Linked DNA regions of Homo sapiens: regions 1, 2, 3 and 5 are each linked to region 4. The links are contacts of gene promoters, found by promoter capture Hi-C in blood cells and fetal thymus (Javierre and others, 2016). All regions are on one chromosome and are shown on one strand. Each heading gives the region's core, a stretch centred on a gene start or on the middle of the fragment in contact. The rest is flanking DNA. Distances are from core to core; before and after follow the strand shown. Region 1 overlaps RUSC2 (RUN and SH3 domain containing 2). Region 2 has its middle 18 kb from the start of RUSC2. Region 3 has its middle 11 kb from the start of CIMIP2B. Region 4 holds the start of FANCG (FA complementation group G). Region 5 holds the start of RUSC2 (RUN and SH3 domain containing 2).

Region 1 (2,742 bases), core at 82-2,581, 480 kb after region 4:
ACAGTGGGCCAGGGAGAATGCAGAGTCTGTGTAAGCAGTGACTGGGTATAGCAGGAGGGTGGAGCTTGAAAGTGTCCCCTGGGAGTGATTCAGAAGCACCTCCCTAATGGGATTGTGGTCCCCATCCCCTCTGACTCTTTGATGTAAATAAGATGAGGGATAGGAAAACCTGGCCTGATACAATTTCACATGTAGTACAATGTGGTAAAAAGAACAGTGGCTCTGAAATCAGACTCTGGGTTAGGCAGAATTCTAGCTCTGCCACTTCCTAGTTGTTTGACCTTGAGCAAGTGCTTTAATCTGTCTACATTTCACATTTCCTAATATGTCAAGTAAGAGAACTAATTCCCGCCTCGCAGAGCTACTGAGCCCCACTGCTGGTGAGCTTTCACCAGGGCTTTAGGCCGGGTGCGTGCTTATAGCGCCATCTTACGTTTATTCGGAGATCTACAGTGTTTTGTTGGAAGTGCAGTCCATCCACTGTCCCACTCCAGTGTCCTGGAGTTTTGTGTTTAGTTCTGAGCACCACGTTTTGAAGGACATTGACCTGAAGACTGCCTGAAAGAACAGGAGAGGCCCAGCCTTGGGGAACATACCTCCGTTCAGGGGGAGCAAATGTGGACTCTGAGGTTCCAATGCCAGGATCGTGAAAAGAGTGGGAGTGGGGGTAGATACAGATAACAGGTAGGCTGCAAGTAAAGAAATATCTTACTATGGTTCGATATGCTCAGGAATGAAATGTGCTGGCATGATTGGAGATGGGATAATGAGCAAAAGCTTGAAGTCAGTAACATCTGAAACATTTTCATCACTGAAAATGTGTGTGACTGTGACTCCAAGACTTAGAAACAAAGAAAATGGTTCTGCCATTGATAGAAATGGAAGTCATCGGAAAAAAGGAGAAAGGTGATGGATAAGCGGTTATAGCACATTTTAAGTGAAAGCAGAACTATAAAGCAGAATGATCTGGAGATGAAGAGGAAGGTCCAGGCTAAAGCTGTGGGTTTGGGAGTCATCCCGTAGAAGTCTGAACTCAAAACTTCTCAAGAAATAAAGTGTAAGGTGAGATGCAAGAGTTGAGCCTTAAGATACACTCACCTTTGGAGTCAAGAAAATGAAGAGGGACTGAACAGCAGAGAGGTACAAGACAGTCCAGCACCATAAAAGCAATAGGAAGCGTTTTACAAAAGAGGGGAGCAGTGTCCCATTCCACGAACTTCTACCCCATTCAATTCCTGCCAGCCAGGTCCCTGCCCCTCTCCCCTCTCCCATCTCTGCTTCTGGGTTTTCTCTCATATGGGTTTCAGTGTCTGTCTACTGATTTCTTCTCCATCCCTTTGCTACAGGGGGTGGCACCGAGAGCCGACCAGTCCTTCGCTACAGCAAGGAACAGAGGCCAACCACACTGCCCATCCAGCCCTTCGTGTTCCAGCACCACTTCCCCAAGCAGCTGGCCAAGGCCCGGGCCCTCCACAGCCTTTCCCAGCTCTACAGCCTCTCAGGCTGCAGCCGTACACAGCAGCCTGCCCCACTGGCTGCCCCTGCTGCTCAAGTCTCAGTCCCAGCTCCCTCAGGGGAACCGCAGGCATCCACTCCCCGAGCCACTGGCAGAGGTGCCAGGAAAGCTGGGTCTGAGCCAGAGACCTCTCGGCCATCGCCCCTGGGCAGCTACTCCCCCATCCGGAGTGTTGGCCCCTTTGGGCCCAGCACTGACTCTTCTGCCTCCACTTCGTGCTCCCCTCCCCCAGAGCAGCCCACAGCCACAGAAAGCCTGCCCCCATGGAGCCACTCCTGTCCTTCTGCTGTCCGGCCTGCCACCTCCCAGCAGCCGCAGAAGGAGGATCAGAAGATACTGACCTTGACTGAGTACCGGCTCCATGGAACAGGAAGCTTGCCGCCTCTGGGCTCCTGGCGATCTGGCCTCAGCCGAGCAGAGAGCCTGGCCCGGGGAGGTGGTGAGGGCAGCATGGCCACCAGGCCCAGTAATGGTACGAGCTCCAGCATCTCCCTACCCAACCCGCCACCTCACGCAAGCACTTCCACCACCTCCCCTTTGAGTGGTTGCTTACACTCTCACCTGGGGCCAGAGGTTAGGATGTCTGCATCCCTCCCTCAGCATCTGTAGATAATATCCACAGATAATCTAGTGTTTCATATGGGCCCACTGGGTGGATGTGAAACTCTGTCTCGCTGTCTCCTGCCAACTCTTGTCTTTCTGCTAATCTGTTCTGCTTCCAGCCAACCACCTATCCCCTCAAGCCCTCAAGTGGCGGGAATACAGGAGGAAGAACCCACTAGGGCCACCTGGTTTGTCAGGGAGCCTAGACCGAAGATCACAAGAAGCTCGGCTGGCCCGAAGAAACCCTATCTTTGAGTTCCCTGGCTCCCTCAGTGCTGCCAGCCATCTGAACTGCCGGCTGAATGGTGTGTGAGCAGGGTCCCCAGTACACCCGGGGCAGGCTCTGCCATGGCTGGAAAGGGCTAGAGAAGGGGTCAGTCCCAAAGGAACGTGTCTCAGACGGTACGAGGCACTGAACTGGCCTGGAACTCCTGCACTGAGAGTTGCTCAGGATTGATTTTTCTCTTCTTTCCAGGCCAAGCAGTGAAGCCGTTACCACTGACCTGCCCTGACTTCCAGGACCCCTTTTCCTTGACGGAGAAGCCTCCAGCTGAGTTTTGTCTGTCCCCAGATGGCAGCTCAGAGGCCATTTCCATTGACCTGCTTCAGAAAAAAGGTGCATA
Region 2 (2,700 bases), core at 173-2,672, 390 kb after region 4:
TACCACCCTTACTGAGGAGCTCGGCCAAGTCAAATATGTGTTCTCTGACAAAACAGGGACTCTGACTCAGAACATTATGATTTTCAACAAATGTTCTATTAATGGGAAGCTCTATGATATGCATGTCTTCCTGCTTTCCCCAAGTCCTGGGAAATTTTTACTTTGCAAATTGTTTTCAAGACTAATCTAGCTCTAAATCTGTAAGCCTCTGGAATTCACATTTATCTCCTATTCTCACAACTGTCTCTATTCTCTAAGCAAAGACCACCCAGCCCAAACAGTTCTAACCAAAAAGCATTTATTTAGCATCTTATAGGTACAATCTATTGTGTTGGGCATTGAGAATACCGAGATGTGCAAGACTTAGTCTCTGTCCTCAAGGAGTCCCCAATGTCTATGTACTCAGTTCACTCCCACTTTAAATCAGATGGATGTTGGTCAAAGGGTACAAAGTTTCAGTTAGGCAGGAGGAATAAGTCTTCAAGATCCATTGCACAGCATGTTGATCCTAGTTAATAATAATGTATTGCATATTTCAAAATTACTAAAAGAGTTTTAAATGTTCTCACTACAAAAAAATAAGTATGCAAGGTGATAAATATGTTAGTTAGCTTGATATAATCATTCCATGGTGTATACATATATGAAAACATCACATTGTATCCATAAATATATACAATTAGTATTTGTCAATTAATAATAAAATTAAAAATAAATTAAATGGAGCAGTCAATGTATTACTGAAGCTGCTAATTTCTTGATTCCCCTTTACAGCAATAAATATTATTGAGAGAAACCATCAAAGGGTAGTCAGAGTTTGATCAGTGTCTCCCAGGCCCAATCCCTTATTTATCTTATGCCTTAAGCATAAGCTTGTTTTTGTGATAGAGTTAAGTCCTCATGTGTGTGAACAGTCATACCCAGTGTCCTAGCTAACAGAGGAAGGTAATCACATCTAAAAAACTAGAACACATGGAATAATCTTTCTGGGGTGACGAAAAAGTTTAGAAACTTGAGAGAGGTGGTAGTTGCACATTGTAAATGCACTAAATGCCTCTAAATTGTACACATTAAAATGGATAATTATATGTTAACTAAGTAAATTTCATATCAATAAGTAATTGAAATTTTTTAATTAAAAAAAGCTAGGCCGGGTGCGTTGGCTCACGCCTGTAATTTCAATACTTTGGGAGTCTGAGGCAGGCGGATCACCTGAGGTCAGAAGCTCGAGACGAGCCTGGCCAACATGGTGAAACCCCATCTCAACAAAAAATACAAAAATATTAGCCAGGCATGGTGGCACATGCCTGTAATCCCAGCTACTTGGGAGGCTGAGGTGGGAGAATTTCTTAAACCCGGGAGGTGGAAGTTGCAGTGAGCCAAGATCATGCCACTGCACTCCAGCCTGGGTGACAAGAGTGAAACTCCTGTCTAAAAAAAAAAAAAAAAAAGACTAGAGCACTCTAATATTTCCTATTATTTCCTATATTTCCTATTATTTGTTTGGTAACCATGTCAAACAAATTTTCACTTATATAAACTCTGAAGGCTTATTTTTGGATGAGCTGATTTGGGTGAGCCTCTTAATTCTCTGACCTGACCATATACTGGGTAAAGTTGAAAAGGACCATGAGTGTTTCCATGCTTGGCATCAGACATGTCTTCTACCCCTATTCAGTCTGTCATCCACTGGTCAAGAATCCCAAACATTCTAAAACTGTGTCCACATCTCTTCTGGGTAACTCTTATGATTGGAGGGCTTCCTGAGGTGTGAAGTCTATCACAGATCCAGTGACTAACTTCTAGCTTCATCTTATTCTCACTTAGGGGAGAAGAGTTGAGGCCCAAGCAAACCTCTTCTTACCATTGGCTTAGGGAAAGGAGCTTACTGGGAACTGGGAGCTAGGTGGCCTGAGGAGACTGGGGGGCAGGCATCTTGACTGCAAGTCTAGGATGAAGGAATCAGAATAAATAAGCTTTTAAGGCCCCTCCTTTAAATCACCATATGACCCAGCAATTTGATTCCTAGGTATATACCCCCAAAACTTGAAAACAAGAACTCGGATACATGTATACCAACGTTCATTGTGACATTATTCGCATAAGTCCAGAGATAGAAATAACCCACATGTCCATCCACAGATGAATGGATAAAGAAACTGTGGTATAGCATATACATACAATGGAATGTGAATCATCCATAAAAAGTAATGAAATTTGATACATGCTACAACATGGATGAACCTTGAAAGCATTATGCTAAGTGATGTAAGCTAAACACAAAAAGACAAAAATTTTATGATTCTACTTATGTGAACTATCTAGAATAGGCAAATTCATAGAGACAAAAAATAGACTAGAGGTTACTAGGGGCTGGTGATGGGAAAAAATGGGAAGTTTCTGTTTGGGGTGCTGAAAAAATGTTGGAAATATATAGTGGTGATTGTTGCACAACATTGTGAATATAATTAATGTCATTGCATTTTACATTTAAAATAGTTAAAATGGCAAGTTTTATGTGATATATATGTATATTTTTTTAACAACAATTTAAAGAAATTCAAACCCTCCTTTAAAACCCTTGCCAAGTCTCTGCTGTGTTCACTTACCAACAGGTGATACTTATGACAAGGATGGACAGAGGGTGACGGTCTCTGAGGTGAGTGATTACAGCTCCATGGGAAATGCATGTGGGAGCTG
Region 3 (2,700 bases), core at 34-2,533, 500 kb after region 4:
GAGACCCCCCTCTCTACAAAAATAAAAAATAAAATTTAAAAAATTAATTTAATTAAAATTAATTATCTGGACTAATTAGCCAGGCAAGGTGGTACACACCTGTAGTCCCAGCTACTCAGGAGGCTGAGGTGGGAGGACCGTTTGAGCCCAGGAGTTTGAGGCTGTAAGTGAGCTATGATCACACCGCCACACTGCAGTCTGGGTGACAGAGACCCGGTCTCTATAAAAATAAAAAGTTTAAAAAATGATAAAAATAAAATATTTTTTCATATCAATGTTATAAAGTAACAACAGTGAGTGAAACATCATTTGAGAACCTGCTGTACAACTTTCTGTATGTCAATAAAGTGATTTTTTAAAAAGGGAAATCATCAGAGGCCAAAAACTAGGCAAAGGATAGAAGGCACTTTTGGCTTAATGGCATTGGCCAAGCCACACAAACTTGGAGGTTCATTTTCACAGGTTCATGAAGTACTGAGAAAAGGAGATAAAACTCAGTGACCACCCAAGATGGAGAGTCTAACAGAAAATTTTTCCTGCATAAAACTGGCATGCATCAAGTTATGTCCCTTTAGTCTTTTTTTTCTTTTTCTTTGAGATGGAGTCTCATTCGGTCACCCAGGCTGGAGGGCAGTGGTGCAATCTCGGCTCACTGCAACCTCCGCCTCCTGGGTTCAAGCAATTCTCATGCTTCAGCCACCTCAGTAGCTGGGATTACAGGCGCCGCCACTACACCCAGCTAATTTTTGTATTTACTTTAGTAGAGACTAACTTTCACCATGTTGGCCAGGCTGGTCTCAAACTCCTGACCTCAAGTGACCCGCCTGTCTTGGCCTCCCAAAGTGCTGGGATTATACACATGAGTCACCGCACCCCACCTTGCCCCTAGAAATCCATCTGCCCCCCAAATCCTTCCTCAGGGGACTACAAAGAAAATTGCCTATCTCAAAACTTGGTACCAAGTGAAAAAGGGGGACATATTTCCCCTAAAACTTCATAACTACAAGCTGGCTCATGCGTGATTTGCAGATGGAATTCACTCTACCTGAGTAGTCTGAAATACTATCAAGATAATGAGGTAGGAGGTGGGACTGGACTCCAGAGGCAGGGCTCAGCAGCGGACCAAATTGAGGACTAGCTAAAACAGGGATGGGGCAGAAGTGGTTTTCCATATGACATGGCCACCAGTGTGCTATGTCAGTTTACCATTGCCATGACAACACCCAGAAGTTACCACCCCTTTCCACAGCAATGACCCAATGAACTGGAAGTTACCACCCTTTACATACAGAAATTACTGCATAGTCCACCCCTTAATTTGCATGTAGTTAAAAGTGGGTATAAATCTGAATGCAGCACTGCCTCTGAGCTGCTGCTCTGAGCATACAGCCTATAGGACAGCCCTGCTCCACAAGGACCAGTACCTCTGCAGGTTTATTAGGATCTTGGAAGAGCATAATGGGAAAAGAAAGATGTACTCTGTTACCAAATTTTTTAAGTATACACTGCTGCTTCAATAAAAGTTGCTGTCTAACACCACTGGCTCATCCTTGGATTTTCTTTCCTGGGCAAAGCTAAGAACCTCCCAAGGCTAAGCCCCAATTTGGGGGCTCACCTGCCCTCCCATCATCTGGTGATCAATGAAAGGAAAAAGATAATGAGCAAGAGGCAGCAAGTCAGTGGAGACAGTGGCAGTCAGCAGACAGGTGAGATGGTGGGACAGCAGAGACGGTGGCAATCAGCGGTCAGTGGAGAGGTGACGACTATGAGAGACAGCAACTGGGAAGACAGTGAGAGACTGACAAGACCAAGCAGAGACAGCGAGAGACCGCAAAGCGGTCTGTGATCAAGGCTGCAAGAGCTATAACACTGAGGCTGTAACAATAAAGAGCTGCTAACACTAACCAAAGGCTCTTTTCAGAGCCATCATTTTCCCTGGCAGGCGGCAGGGCCAAGCAGACACACTAATGGCCATAATGTCACTGCCTCATGTGAGCTCTGACCATGGCAGGCCAGTGGGTTACCAGTCCCTATGCTTGCCCCCTGTGTGACAGCTGAGCCCACCCAAGCTGGGGGGTCCTGGAGGGACCTTCACCAGGGTCCCACATGAAAGACTGGCTGGTGCCATTTGGCTCCTATGGATGGGTAAGTGTCCCTTCTTCCCCTACTCCATAACATCTAGTGAGCTGGGGAATAAAAAGCCTTCGGCTAAGTGGTTAAAAGTCCCCCACAGTATGAGTGCCCTGAGGCACATCCTTGTGACCTCTCCCCCCTGTGCTTTCTTCTCTGACTCCATATTATTGTTCCACCAATCATTTTATTTTTATTTCGAGTCCAAAAATTTACGTTTCATTTGAAGCGTTATGTTTCCTTTTGACTTTCTGTTAACTGTGTTTGAGCAATTGTTTAAGGCTGGATGTTTAGTTGTGCTCTGTTGCGTCAACTCTGGGACACCAGAGTCACATTGTTCTATGACCCCAACTTGGTCTTGGGTTCACTGTTGGCCACTCCCTTGGTGCCCCCAGGTTTTTGGCATTTGGTGAGGGGACCCTCATTGGCTGAAACAGGCACTCTGGGTTTCCAGCATTGGTATGATAGGCCACTCCCAGATGCTCTGGGGTTTTCAGGATTGACATTCCCTCTAGGATTATAGGTTATAGCCCCACCCACTACGGGAATATTGGTATCAACTTTTTCTGC
Region 4 (2,769 bases), core at 1-2,500:
TGACAGTCAGCTCCAAGGGAAGAACAGGAACAGCTGCAGGGAGCCCTGGAGCAACAATGTTGGTCTTACAGACTGCTCCCCCATGGAAGATCCTCCAAATAAAATCCCAACTCAGAGATCACCCCACTCCAACCAAAACAGCTACAATAAAGAACCCACCCTCCAGCCAATTAGCTAAGGATTTAAAAAAAGAACCCAACCTTTGGACAGAGAGTCTGGAAAGGGCAAAAAAGTTATCCAGATCAGACCATCTTGGAAACCATTTTTCAAATGCCACTCTGTGAGTGTGTAAGGAAGAGAGGGATTTGCCTGTACAAAGATGATTCCACTCCAGTCTCCTCTGTGCCTTAAACAGGACTCCCTGCCCCGAGTAATTATATCGATCCCAAAAACGCAGGAGCGGATGTTTCTCTGGCTATGGAAGAGGGGAACTGACCATCCTGGGGAGGACCCGCCTACCTTGCAGACTATGGAGGAGCCCTCTGAGCCCTTCCAGTGCATCCTGAGCCAACTGCTGTCGCCTCAGAGTCAGACCGGAGTTCTGAGCCACCTGCCACATGAGGGAGGGGTTGTCACTGAGGATCAATCCTTTTTTCTCCCCTTGCAGCAGTGGCAAGGGATGCATTCTCCAGTCATTTCTGGCTCTTTGGTCAAGCTCAGTCCCTCCCCATCGGTTGGGGTAAATCCACTGCAAACCCGCTTTCAGGGATCTTGAGGCTGCAAACCGAGGGTGCCAGCAACCGTGTTACCTTGGCCTGTCGAACGAGCCGGTCATTCTTTTCCCTCCACAGGTCCAGGCAGCTGGAGCCCACAGAGGTGGTCTGGCGGGACATGGTGGCCGAGGCTGGGCCCGGAGACCAGAAGCGGACTTAGGAAGGGTGAAGCTGGCCTGCCCAAGCTCCCAACCCCAGCGGGGAGGGGCCTGGGCACTTCTGCACCCCGCCGAGCTCCCCTGCTTCTCTCGGGGTCCCAATCCACCCGCCCAGGCTTTCCAGGACAGATGGGACGCTCTCTCCCCGCGGCCCGCCGGGCTCTCAACCTCGCCTCTGGTTGGCCGGGTCTGCGAAGCTCTGGGCTGCGGTTGGTCCTCTTGAAGAGTTAGTTCCCGCGGGAAACTCGGGGAGGAAACGAGTCAGCAACCCCAAACAGGCTTAGGCGGGCTAGAAGCCGGGGTCGTGTCTGACTGGGGCAGTCGCACGGCCGGCGGTGCGGCCCGCTCGGCTCTCGCGGAGGCCACAGCCTCGAGAAAGGGTGGGCGGGAGCGAGTTTCGGCCCCACAGTCCGTGGCTCGGCCCTTCCTCGCTGCCACACCCCCAGGTCCTCCTGGGTTCCCGCTTCCACCGAGGGCCGACTGCGAGGTGCATGCTGGGAGTCGTAGTACCGCACCGGGGCGGAACAGCTCCGCCCCGGCGGATGGTGTTTCCAGAAAGCGGTAACTGGAGACGAGGGCGCTCCGTAATCGTCCATCCTTTCTCTGCTCACTGTCGAGCACCAACACGCTCACCAAGGTCGGCTTTCTACCGCGTGTAGTCTGCTGGCAGTGCCGCTCTGTACTTGCACTGCTCAAAAGTACCTGCCCAATCATTTCAAATTAAATGGAGCTAGGAGAATTGAATATCCATATGCAAAAAAAAAAAAAAAAAAAGACAGGAAAGAAAAGAACGCGACCATACATACGTACATAAAATCAACTCAATGGATCACAAACTAAATATAAGAGCCAAAAATATAAAACTTCTAAAAGAAAACGTAAAGCAGCCTAACTAACATGGTGAAACCTTCTCTACAAAAATACAAAAATTAGCAGGGCGTGGTGTCGTGCGCCTGTAATCCCAGCTACCCCGGAGGCTGAGGCGGAAGAATCGCTTGAACCCGGGTGGCGGAGGTTGCAGTGAGCCGACATCGTGCCATTGCACTCCAGCCTGGGTGACAGAGTGAGACTCCGTCTCAAAAAAAAAAAAAAAAGAAAACGTAAGAGAACAGCTTTATGACCTTGGGTTTGGCAACAAGTTGTTAGACACAGCACTAAAAGCTTGTACAATTTAAAAAAAAGTTAACTTTATTAAAATTAAAAACTCTTGTACTACAAAGACATCATTAAGAAGTCATACGCTGGGGCCGGGCGCCGTGGCTCACGCCTGTGATCCCAGCACTTTGGGAGACCGAGGCGGGCGGATCACGAGGTCAGGAGATCGAGACCATCATGGCTAACACGGTGAAACCCCGTCTCTACTAAAAATACAAAAAATTAGCCGGGCGATGTGGCGGGCGCCTGTAGTCCCAGCTACTCGGGAGGCTGAGGCAGGAGAAAGGCGTGAACCCCGCGGGCCAGAGCCTGCAGTGAGCCGAGATCGCCCCACTGCACTCCAGCCTGCGCAACAGCGAGACTCCATCTCAAAAAAAAAAGAAAAGAAAAGAAAAGAAAAGAAGAAAAATCATAGGCTGGATGTGGCTCATGCTGTAATCCCAGCACTTTGGGAGGCTGAGGCTGGAGGATTCCCTGAAGCCAGGAGTTCAAGACCAGCCTAGGCAACAAAGATGGTGTCTTTTGTAGAGACATTATCTCTACAAAAAATTTAAAACATTAACCCTGGCACAATAACACACCTGTAGACCCAGCTACTTGGGAGGCTGAGGTGGGAGGAGCCCTTGAGCCTAGGAGTTCCAGGTTGCAGTGAGCCATGATCACACCACTGCCCTCCAGCCTGAGTAACAGAGTGAGACCCTGCCTCAAAAAAAGAAAGGTCACAGTCACAGAGTGGGAGAAAC
Region 5 (2,807 bases), core at 76-2,575, 410 kb after region 4:
TATACTTCTATGCAAAGTTAGACTCGGCTGCAGTCAGTCTAATTGGTTGCAGATAGCCAATTTCCCATCTGCTGGGCAGAAAAGTTGGGTGGGGGGTTTGTTACTTAGGTGTGGAAAGTTAGGGTTTTCCTTTCAATTTAGTTCCAGGAAGTTGGCATGAACCAGTCTTAGGTTCCCTGCCTCCAGTCCCTATTCTCCTGCCTCAGAACCATCACCCAACATCCCTAGTGGGTAGCAGGGGAGAACCCTCTCCTGCCCCGCTCATGCCTAACTACCTGTAACAGTTTGGCTGTGTCCCCACCCAAAATCTCATCTTGAATTGTAATTCCCATAATCCCCCTGTGTCAAGGGCGGGAACAGGTGGAGGTAATTGGATGATGGGGCTGGTTTCCCCTGCGCCCTTCTCGTGACAGTGAGTGAGTCCCACAAGATCTGATGATTTTATAAGCGTCTGGCATTTCCCTTGCCTGCACTCACTCTGTCCTGCCACCCTGCGAAAAGGATGGCTACTTCTTTGCCTTTTGCCATGATTATAAGCTTCCTGAGGCCTCGCCAACAATGCGGAACTGTGAGTCAGACCTCTTTCCTTCATAGTATTTCTTCATAGCAGTGTCAGAACGGACTAATACAGTGGGTTTCCCATAACATTTGCAGGACTGCCTGCCCCATCCCCCTCTGGCTGTAAACAGCAGGAGTCACACACAGGCATCTTCCATGTCCCCCACACATCCGGCCCTGAAGGGCAGGGGGCGCATGGGTTCTACGTTTCATCAGGGGTTCCGAACCCTGGCTATGCACTGGAGGCCAACCCCACCTCACCCCACCCCACTCCACCCCAGTGGTTCTGAGTCGGTCCAGTGTGAGGTCAGCCCTCCTTCTGTTGTTTGGTTAGTTTCCACACTAGGTTCTACTGGGAAGCCAGCGTTGAGAACCGCCGCCTCAGGCGAAGCTGGGACTCACACCCACCGGCCCTGGAGGCCCGCGGAAGGTTTCCCTGGGTTCCAGCACCCGGGAGCCGCGCGTCGCCAGGCACCACCCCGCGGGGGCGGGCGCGGGCCGCAGAAGATTGGGCCACGGCGGAAGCCTCTCCGCTCCCTTAGCGGGAAAGCTCTGCGCGTGACTCGGCTGCGCCCATCGCTGCGGGAGCCGGGGAGGGGGCGAGCACCTTAGGCCGGGCGGACCGAACCAACGCGCCGCCCGGAGGGGCGGCCTGAGGGCAACCCAGATCGGACCATCGCGCCACGCCGACAGGGGCCGGCCTTTCCAACCCGCCCGGAGGGAGGGGCCGCCGGCGCCTCTAGCCTGCAACGCGACCCCTGGAGGGCGAGACACGCCGCCGCCGCCGCCGCCGCCGGCGCGGAAGGACGAGGCTGAGGCGAGAAACGAGGTAGGAACGCCTCTCCGGAGGCGGGCAGGGTCCCACAGACCCACTGCCCCGCGTTCCAAGGTCTCCCTTAGGGGAGGGCCTGTCTTCCCACCTATGTGCCTTCAGCGCCTGCCCTTCCCTTCAGCCCTTCCCCCTCGGCTGCACCCGCCCTCTGCGTCCGCCCCGACCCCCTGGGCAGACCTCGTCCCCAGCCCTTCTGACCCTTGGCCTTCTCCTGACCCTTCAGCTCTGCGTCCACCGGACCTTCAAACACCCAGCACCCACCGTCCCTTTGGGCGCCACCCCAGATGCATCCCCAACCGTCTCCTCAAACTGCCCCCTTGGGGACACCCTCCCCCCACAAAACGACTCGCGCCCAGTAGTCACCTTGGTACCCCAAGTCCCTGTGACGGCTTTGGGGAAGCGTGGCCGCCCGGCACCCAGGCCGGCGACTGCAGCGGGGGCCTCCCTACTGCCAGTTCCCGGCCGGGTCCTCTGCTCCCTCCACCCTTTTAGCCCCTGCCTCCCTTTATTATCCGCCCGGCGCCGGCGTTGCTTCAGTCTCTGTCTCTCTGTCATCCAGTTTTACCTGGAGAAAACCTTTGGCTTGGCAGTAACCGTCCCCTACTACTGCACTCACTTGCCGCGAAGGGCACGGTGATCCTGTTGCCCACAGTTGGCTGTGGCCCTCCAGGCCGGCCCTGCGGACACGGGGAACTGTCCTGGGGGCAAGGACGGTACACTACTCATCTTTGTATCCCCGGTCCCCAGCACGGTGCCTGGCACATGGTAGTGTTGCTGGTGGAGGGTCTTCACTACCAGTTGTCCTTTGCGTTTTGAACAAGTAATTGAGCAGCGGAGGAATGAAACGCAGGAACAAGTAGATCTGAGTCAGGCAAGGATTACCACTATGTGAACAGTGTCCGTGATAAAGAACACAGGCCTTAAAAAAAAAAAAAAGGCGGAATTTACAAAGGACAAAGGGCCTGAAACCTGTTTTTATTTATTCCTAGGTGGGTGACCTGAGCAGATTTAGTTTCCTGGGGGTTTGGGTTCCACGCGGAAGCAGGTGGTATCGCTGAGGGATGAAACAATGGCTGGAAAGCTGTAGGAGTTGATAAGGTAGAAAGTAGTTACCTAATTAGTAGTGGCATTATTGTAACTGGGGCTCAAAGTATTAGCAAATAAAAGTAGTGACTGGATTTTCTTAGCCGGCTCCTTAGATATTAAGCAGTGGTGGATGGCTTAATGGAAGGAAGAGCAGATCCAAACAGTATACCTGGTATTCTGTTAGTTATGCCCGTCCTGCTGTATGGCCAGCCACTGTTTCTCTTCTGTTTTGAGCCAGGTTAGGATCCCTCTGATTTCTGTGCTGGTATTTAAGATTCCTTTTTGAAGCCACAGTTGCCTTAACTGGAGGCTGGACATGTTCTCATTCATC

What was found. Contacts are between HindIII fragments. The CHiCAGO score rates a contact against its expected background, and 5 or more counts as called.
Region 1: a fragment that was not itself captured here is called in contact with the fragment with the promoter of FANCG in region 4 in 2 of 17 cell types (monocytes and M0 macrophages); the score reaches 5.9 in monocytes.
Region 2: a fragment that was not itself captured here is called in contact with the fragment with the promoter of FANCG in region 4 in 5 of 17 cell types (M0 macrophages, M1 macrophages, M2 macrophages and 2 more); the score reaches 9.9 in M0 macrophages.
Region 3: a fragment that was not itself captured here is called in contact with the fragment with the promoter of FANCG in region 4 in 1 of 17 cell types (endothelial precursors); the score reaches 5.1 in endothelial precursors.
Region 5: the fragment with the promoter of RUSC2 here is called in contact with the fragment with the promoter of FANCG in region 4 in 2 of 17 cell types (monocytes and M2 macrophages); the score reaches 5.8 in monocytes.

The regions. Positions count from the first base shown.
Region 1 is chr9:35,553,714-35,556,455 of GRCh38, forward strand. RUSC2 (RUN and SH3 domain containing 2) reads left to right here. Exons shown (of 12, transcript NM_014806.5): 3 at 1,347-1,988; 4 at 2,239-2,424; 5 at 2,595-2,735. Among named protein-coding and RNA genes, the nearest start is that of CIMIP2B, 8.8 kb to the right of the region's middle. The HindIII fragment of the contact is 1,113 bases long and covers 776-1,888 here.
Region 2 is chr9:35,471,113-35,473,812 of GRCh38, forward strand. It overlaps the pseudogene ATP8B5P. Among named protein-coding and RNA genes, the nearest start is that of RUSC2, 18 kb to the right of the region's middle. The HindIII fragment of the contact is 1,104 bases long and covers 871-1,974 here.
Region 3 is chr9:35,573,660-35,576,359 of GRCh38, forward strand. No RefSeq gene overlaps it. Among named protein-coding and RNA genes, the nearest start is that of CIMIP2B, 11 kb to the left of the region's middle. The HindIII fragment of the contact is 7,332 bases long and covers 1-2,700 here.
Region 4 is chr9:35,078,692-35,081,460 of GRCh38, forward strand. FANCG (FA complementation group G) reads right to left here and starts at 1,251. Exons shown (of 14, transcript NM_004629.2): 1 at 750-1,251; 2 at 460-550; 3 at 1-45. The coding sequence starts at 833. RefSeq lists enhancers at 273-880, 2,097-2,703 and a silencer at 956-1,121. The HindIII fragment of the contact is 2,060 bases long and covers 1-2,030 here.
Region 5 is chr9:35,488,786-35,491,592 of GRCh38, forward strand. RUSC2 (RUN and SH3 domain containing 2) reads left to right here and starts at 1,326. Exons shown (of 12, transcript NM_014806.5): 1 at 1,326-1,387. It overlaps LOC105376026 (a long non-coding RNA gene), which reads right to left. Exons shown (of 2, transcript XR_929580.4): 1 at 2,646-2,807; 2 at 2,334-2,471. RefSeq lists a silencer at 995-1,294. The HindIII fragment of the contact is 5,552 bases long and covers 536-2,807 here.